3 separate regions of the Homo sapiens genome follow, and regions 2 and 3 are each linked to region 1. The links are contacts of gene promoters, found by promoter capture Hi-C in blood cells and fetal thymus (Javierre and others, 2016). All regions are on one chromosome and are shown on one strand. The core of a region is centred on a gene start or on the middle of the fragment in contact, and the rest is flanking DNA. Distances in the headings are between cores, read along the strand shown. Region 1 holds the start of GMPR (guanosine monophosphate reductase). Region 2 overlaps LOC102724520 (a long non-coding RNA gene). Region 3 has its middle 110 kb from the start of LINC02543.

Evidence for each region. Contacts are between HindIII fragments. The CHiCAGO score rates a contact against its expected background, and 5 or more counts as called.
Region 2: a fragment that was not itself captured here is called in contact with the fragment with the promoter of GMPR in region 1 in 4 of 17 cell types (total B cells, erythroblasts, naive CD4 T cells and 1 more); the score reaches 5.7 in total B cells.
Region 3: a fragment that was not itself captured here is called in contact with the fragment with the promoter of GMPR in region 1 in 2 of 17 cell types (naive B cells and neutrophils); the score reaches 5.6 in naive B cells.

The regions. Positions count from the first base shown.
Region 1 is chr6:16,237,317-16,239,879 of GRCh38, forward strand. It overlaps GMPR (guanosine monophosphate reductase), which reads left to right and starts at 1,271. Exons shown (of 9, transcript NM_006877.4): 1 at 1,271-1,464. The coding sequence starts at 1,378. RefSeq lists silencers at 1,054-1,153, 1,274-1,373. The HindIII fragment of the contact is 2,876 bases long and covers 1-2,062 here.
Region 2 is chr6:15,728,770-15,731,332 of GRCh38, forward strand. LOC102724520 (a long non-coding RNA gene) reads right to left here. Exons shown (of 4, transcript XR_427883.5): 4 at 1,271-1,763. Among named protein-coding and RNA genes, the nearest start is that of DTNBP1, 67 kb to the left of the region's middle. The HindIII fragment of the contact is 2,746 bases long and covers 1-2,563 here.
Region 3 is chr6:15,884,886-15,887,448 of GRCh38, forward strand. No RefSeq gene overlaps it. Among named protein-coding and RNA genes, the nearest start is that of LINC02543, 110 kb to the right of the region's middle. The HindIII fragment of the contact is 2,945 bases long and covers 1-2,563 here.

The DNA of each region.
Region 1 (2,563 bases), core at 21-2,520:
AGCAGCTTCAGTGAATAGTTGTAGCAAGTTTTAAGGACTGAGAAATTTATATTGAATTTTTCTGCGGCCTTAGGCAAGTTATTTCATTTATAGAAGCCTCGTTTTTCCTTATCTGTGAAATGGCTCTTTCTTCATTGGGTTGTTCTGAGAGTGAATGAGATGATGCATGAAGCCCGGCAGCACATTTCAAATGTATAATAAAAGGTCGGTAAGGTCAATAAGTGAATCAATGAACTCACATCACTGGTAACCCCTCGAACTCACATCACTGGTAACCCTCAGAGGGGACTCAGGCTCCTCAAATCTCAGGATCTGCGTCGACTACAGACCTCACTGTTTTTCTTAAACAAAAATCCTGAAATCCAGGCTGGGCGCAGTGGCTCACGCCAGTAGTCCCAACACTGGGAAGCTGAGGCGGGAGGATTGCTTGAACCCAGTAGTTCAAGACCAGCCTGGGCAACACAGTGAGACCTTGTCTCTTAACAACAAGTCCAAAGGGAATCATGGCCTCCACAATCCCAGTACAGCTAAACAGTTAACTGCCCACGTTCTTTTCCTTAATTCTATACAACCTCCCTGGGGTTTCTGGTTCTTTGGCAAGTGAGAGACGTGCTCCTCAACACTGGGTGAGCACACCGGGCTTGAATTTTAAAAAAGGAGAATCCGCCGGGCACGGTGGCTCACGCCTGTAATCCCAGCACTTTGGGAGGCCGAGGCAGGCGGATCACTTGAGGTCAGGGGCTCGAGACCAGCTTGGGCAATATGGTGAAACCCCGCCTCTAGGAAATAATTTTTAAAATAAGCTGGGTGTGGCGGCGTGCGCCTGTACTCGAGGAGGCTGAGGCATGAGAATCGTTTGAGCCCAGGAAGTCGAGGCTGCGATGAGCGGCGATAGCGCCACTCACTCCAGCCTGAGCGACAGTGAGACTGTCTCAAAAAAAAAAAAAAAAAAGTAAAAGCTCTCAGGGAGCGACTTTTCCCTTGGATAAGGCAGCCACACGCTAAGTCCCCTCTCCATCGGGGACCCTGGGGACAAACAGAACGGTGCGCATTTCCCTCCCCCGTCCCCATTCGGTCACTGCCACGGGCTGTACACCTGAGGGGGAAGGACGGGGGCGGCGGCGCGAGGAGGAAGGGCTTCGCCGCCAATCTGTCCCTAACCAGTCTGCCTCTCAACCCCTGCCTGAGGCGGAGGCGGTGCCCGGGGCGGGCCAAGCGTGACCGCGGGTCGGCGGGGCGTGTTTAAGACCGCGGCGTGCGCACCCGGCCCACGCCAGCTCCCGGCCGCGGCACAGCAGCCCCGGCGCTCCCCGCGCCGCCCCGCGCAGGCGCCCCCGCCCCGCCGTCGCCGCCGCCGCAGCCAGGAGCCGCTGCACCATGCCCCGCATAGATGCGGACCTCAAGCTCGACTTCAAGGATGTCCTGCTCCGACCTAAGCGGAGCAGCCTCAAGAGCCGAGCCGAGGTGGGGGACGTTCGGAAGTCGCAGTGGGGTGGGATTTTTTTTTCCGGGTGGCGCGGGGCAAGTGGGTGGAAGGGGGTGGCACCGGGTTACCCTGCCTGCTTTGGTGTTTGAGACTGGGGCGCTGCGCCCCCGTTCCCGCGCCCCAGCACCTGCCAGGACGTGAGGTGTCTTTAAGGGCGGTGATACGGGGGCCCATGAAATTCTCTACACGTCGGTCCCGTTGGGTGGCCTAGGGGAAGTTCACAGTGAAACTCGACCACAGATGAGCGAGATCCAGTGGCCAGTTGGTTTAGAAGGAATAGGGGTACGAGGGCGCTTATAGCAAGAAAAGGAAACTGGAGCTAGGGGAGAGAGGACGAGAAAAACAACTGCAGATCCCGGTGATTTTTGGCTGCGTCTCCTAGTGCTGATAATTGCTGCTGCTTTCGCTTCGGGTCCAGCGGTGGAACTTCGTGAACGCGTCTGAAAAACCAGAACCCAGGGCACAAGTTCAGGGTTTCCTTTCTGAGTTTGGCGGCCTTGCTGGCAGTGGGGCTTGGGGACTCAGCGGTACTGGACAGCCCGCGGTCCCAGCCTAGCCCTGGAGAAGAGTTTCGAAAGCTTTGGGGTGAGAGAGGTGGGGGCGAATTGGAAGCCTCGGGCATTTCCCTGGTTCTGCCTGGATGTCCTCAAATCCTAAGGAACAGGTGGAGACCGGACTGGAAATAGCCTGAGGCTGGGGGAAGGGAGGCCAGTCCCTGAAGGATAAACTAGTTGCCTGAAAGGCAGAGTGCCCCGGGGTGGTGTGCGCTGGTGACTGGCTTTGCTGAGAGCTGGAGAGGAAGGTGAGGAAACCGGACACGGTTGAAGGCTGGGGCTGAAGGAGTAAACACGAGGAGGCTGGGCCAACCTGCACAGCTCCGTCCACTCAGCTCCACAAACAAGACCATAAATAAATCCCCTCAGCAAAGAAGTCCGCTGCCCACTCCGGTGCCAGGCCTAACTGCAGTGCCTGGGGCTGCCAGCCGAGGGCTTGCTTGGATTGGGGAAGCCTCCGCGTTAGCCAATGACTAAACCAAGTGGCCTTCTGTAAGCAGCAGCATTGGCTGGTTTGGAGCCC
Region 2 (2,563 bases), core at 48-2,547, 510 kb before region 1:
TAGGGCTTCTGTCCCTTTCAAAGGTGCTGTGATAGGGGGATGAAGCTCTCTTGTTGCTGCCATTGGTGATCCTTGGGAGTCTCCCTTCCCTCTCCTGCAGAGCTCAGTGAGAGGCAGCCTTAGGCAAAGTTAAGCTCAGTACACAGCCAATGTCTGGTGAAGCAGAGAGAGAGAGAGAGAGAGAGAGAGAGAGAGAGAGAAGATGGGGACATCTCTGATCTATCCTACCCATCTCTGGGACCAAACATTTGTCAGACTCCATAAAATCATCAACCTTAAACCTGGAAGGGATCACAGAAATGATCCAGTTATACCTCACTTTACTTCTTAAGAAATAGAGGCCTAACAAGGCTTCCAACAGCCATATAACTGGCTAATGGCAGAGCTCACAATCCATCGCTCTTCTCCCTGCACCACAATGTCATTCACAGCCATTCAGTGATGCATCATTACTTTAGAGTACACTTAATACTATCAGGCATGATTTGAGAGGCTGGAGTTGAATTGGCGCCTTCTCTGCCCACGAGGGGCTTAAAATCTAGTGAAAATGACAGGGCCCATTTATTGAACAACTTCCGATGCCTCAAATACATTACTTACTCTACCCAACATTTCAAGTTGTGTTATTTTATGTTCAGAGAGGTTAATGTGTACAAAGATGAATGTGCCCAAAGCATTCATTGGTAGGGCTGGGATTTGAGCCCCTGTCCATTTGACTCTAAATCCTAGGCTTGTTACGCTGTGTAACTCTGCCTCCCTAATATTAACAAATGTGTGGGAGAAGCATAACTATGACCCCTCTACCATGCTGGCTCAGATATCCGTGTGGTTTCTAGAAGATTAAGAAGCTATTATTCTGGTACCTTTCTTACAGGGAAAAGATGAGGTGAAGTAATGCAGAACATGGAAATGACTTTCTAAAAAGGATTTGAAACAGCTGAGAGCAACATAAACAGCAGGTTAAAAGATGAAACAAATATGTAAGTAATGGGGGAAATGAGGACAAAGCAACAACAAAGGATAAAGAGGAAGCCAGGGGTGAAGGAGGGACATAAAATGCCTACCATAGGGTCCAGGAAACCTGCTAGCAGGAGTCAAAGGACTGAGCTGCATTTTGATGAAATCGTTCTCGAAAATGCTAATCTATCCTCATACACAGTCTGTCCATTAATACTAGAAAACAGAAGAAACAGAGAGACAGAATACAAAACTGTTAAGAGTTTCAGCCTCTCTATTCAATGGATTTTAGAGGACTCAACTTGATTCAAACTCCACGTTACACAGACTTTATTAGATACTGTCTTAAACCACAAAATAAACTTTACACCAGTATAGTACAATATAACTTTGTTTGAAAGCAATATCTTTTGCAGGCAAGGCCCAGTTTTCAAAAGGTACATGTGTAAGGCATTATTTAACTATATGTTGAATACAGCAACATTTAGCTGGGGTTTGGAGGCAGAAGACTGAGGCTTAAATGCATTTGATCCCTGTGGTCTAGTCAAGTTATTCTCCGTCTCCAGGTCGGTTTCCTAATTCACAGAATGAGGATAAGATCTGCTTTATCAAATGTTTGTGAGAGTTAACTGAAGTAATAGAGGTGAAATGCCTGGCAATTTCACGTCATTGATGCTGCTGATGAGGTAAAAACTTTTGATTTTCCTCCTTTGCTATGAGCTTATTCTCAGTCCAGTTTTGTTTCGGTGTTGTCTCCTTACCAGAGAGGTTAGTGGTAATTATTGTTAGTGATAACAGACCAGCATCTGGAAATGATATAGAAGACAGCAGATCATGATAATGTCCCTTCCCTTTTCCAAATAAGCACTCTGTCACAGGGTGGGTCCCCCAGAGTTTAGTGTGCAGGGTGTTGATTAGGGACTGCCCTCAGGATCAACATCTGTGGAAGGTGTGGGCAGAAGAAGCTGAGCTGTCATGCAGGCATCACCACAGCCCCTGCCCGTGGGGCGCACTGGAGTGGAAATGGCCCTTCAGAAGCGTCCCAAGGTGGGCCTAGATGGCCCGGCCTTTTTATTCCATGTGGGCCACTCTGGGAAGGGGGGTGACCTCGGTCAAGGGAGTTCTCCACAGCTGAGAAATCCCTGACGAGGCATGTCCTTCATGAAGTGGGGGGTTGAGGAGGTGGTCTGGGCAGTGCCCTACTGCCTATGCTGCACTTCCTCATAGGTTCTCTTTCTTTGGTGGCCCTCCTGCCTTTCCAGACACAGAGAATGTCAACATTCCTCCTAATTCTTTTATTAGAAGTTCCTAGGGCAGATTGAGAGAGATCTGAATCAAAGGTACACAGTGGTTTCCAAGGGAGAAGAGCCTCTTTATGTTCTCGGTTGAACAGCAACTCTGACTTCTTCTGAATGAATTCGTCAGGGGCGAAGGGCAGAATGCAGACAGGCATCACACAGCCCCGTCAAAAGAACCTGAACAAAGGTTGAGGGAGGCTGATGGGGGACATGTATAAAAAACACAGCCTCTGAGAGATCTGAAGTTCATCAAGTTCTACAAGCATGACCATATCCCAACCATATCCTTAAGATAATGAGGGCAAATG
Region 3 (2,563 bases), core at 23-2,522, 350 kb before region 1:
TTGAGATGGAGTTTTGCTCATGTCACCCAGGCTGGAGCGTGTGGTGGTGCGATCTCAGTTCACTGCAGCCTCCGCCTCCCAAGTAGCTGGGATTACAGGCATGCATCACCACGCCCAGCTAATTTTTATATTTTTAGCAGAGACAGGGTTTCACCATGTTGGCCAGGCTGGTCTGGAACTCCTGACCTCAAGTGATCTGCCCACCTCGGCCCCCCAAAGTGCTGGGATTACAGGCGTGAGCCACGGTGCCTGGCCCCTCAGTGCTCTTTTTATCTCTACCTAGAATGATCCAACTTATTTTAAAAATCTTCATACTACCAGTGCTGAAACAACATTTTCCACACATTTCTTAGGTGTGCAAGTTTATTTGCCAGATATATTCCTAACAGTAGTGGAACTGTTAGATCAAAGGCATATGAATTTTTCATTTTGATAGATATTGACAAATTGCCCTCTAAAGAGAGCATGTCGATTTATATTCCCTGCCTGTCTGCACTCTTACCAGTGCTGTGCATTTTAAAACTTTCTGATCTTTGCAAAACGTATGAGTAAACAAATGTGTCTTCAGTGATTTTCTTGCTTCCAGTCTTGCTCCTTTTGATTCACTATTCACTCTGCAGCTAGGGTGTGAGTCCAATCCTGTAACTCAGCTTTAGAAGATGCTTCCATGGCTCCTCACCGTCCTTGAAATAGAGTCCCATTTCCTTGACTGGCTCACAAGGCCTTTTGTGTTTGCGGTCCTGTGTAGGTCTCTACTGCCATCCCTCATCTCTTGCTGCCTCGCACTCCACATTTCAGCCATGCTAAACTACTCAGTCTGCTCTCCCTCACCTCCTTCCAGACCTCTTTCCCGTGCTCCACCTGCCTGAGAATACTTTCCACTGCCTGTCTTCCCTACTCTGGCTCACACTCATCATTCTATTTTTGGCTTAGATGTGACATCTACCAGGTTATAACAGGGATGCACTGGCTGCCTCCACAGCCCTCTTACTTCGCCTTTTAAATTATGCAACACTTGGTATATCAAAATAGTATGTAATATACACGTACGTTATGATGCAGAATCATAAAAATAAACCTATGCACCTACCAACTGCAACTGAAGAAACAGATGGCTGCCAACACTGTAATATGTGCTGCTTTCCTATCCATCATTACTCTTACCACACTGGGTGGTAGAGAATCTATACTTGTCTCTATTTCCCACTGGCATCTGAGTCCTGGGAAACAGGTCTGGATCTGACCCATGCATAGTGGTATTCCAAGGCCAAGCATAGGGTGTGATAAGTTGCAATCACTTAATAATATTTTTAAATTGAATATAATAATAGTCAGAAAGGGGAATTTTTTTTTAATAGCCAGGCTCTCAGAAAACAAGTCAGTTATTAAGAACTTATCATCAGTTCACACTGTACTTTGGGTCATTTTTCCAAGGTCAGAGATCAAGTTGTATAGCTTAAGCCTCCTTGTCTGCCTCCTTTGGTGAGGTAGTATGCTATGACTTTTCATTTCTTTTCTTTTTTTCTTTCTTTCTATTTTTTGGTGGGCGGTACCATTGCTTATTTTAATTTTTCAGTTGTGTATCAATAAGGCTGAACAGTTTCTGAAGTACCAGGAATCTATATTAATATTATAATTGCAAAGTGAGTAAACTTACTCTTCCATGGTAATAAGTAATTCAGTTCCTGTCCAAAGCGAGAAATGTCATTCGTGACACTGATTTCACAAATTAAATGCTATCAGCTACTTGAATTAAATAAGGAAACATATCACTAATGGAATTTAAATTAAGGTAACAATAGTAACTCTAATTTAATAAGGGTGGACCTCATGCTAGGCACACTGTAGATTTTTTGCTGATCTTTACCATTATCCTAGAAAGATACGAATGATTATTTCTGTGTTCAGATGAGGACATAGAGGTTCAAAGGGCGAGGGATTGAACCAATGCCACTAAGCCTGGACATCAGAGAGCCAGAACGGGCATCAAAGTCTGTGTCTCCACAAAGCCAAGCCCCTTCCCCCATATCACACAGCATCTCAAACACCATAACTAAAGAAATAGCACAATGCCTTTAAAAAGTATTTTCCTTATTTTTTTCTTTAATTTACCCTGGTCTATCACTTAAAAAAATCATTTTTATTGTTTTAAAATTATAACCTTTACTATTTTTTTACATGGTATTGGATATTTACTAAAAAGAGTATAATAAAGTAGTATGTTATTCATGATAAGTGCTAAAAGGAAAAACAAAGCAATGTAAGGGGATGGGAGGGGACAAGTCTGGATGTTTCGTTAGAAGAGGAGTTCAGAGGAACTTTCTTTGATAAGATGATATTTGAACAGAAACCTCAGTGAAAGGAGGGAGGGAATCTGTGGAGATATCGGGGGTAGAAGGTGGGGAAAGAGGGGTCCCGGGCAAGGTGCACCTGCCTCAGTGTGTACATTCACACCTAATTTGTAGCATATCCCAAGCTATAATATGGCTGTTTACATTTTAGAAGAGATTCCCCTACATTTTATGGAGCTTATGAATTGAAAAAGTTCTCTTAAGTCCTCAAA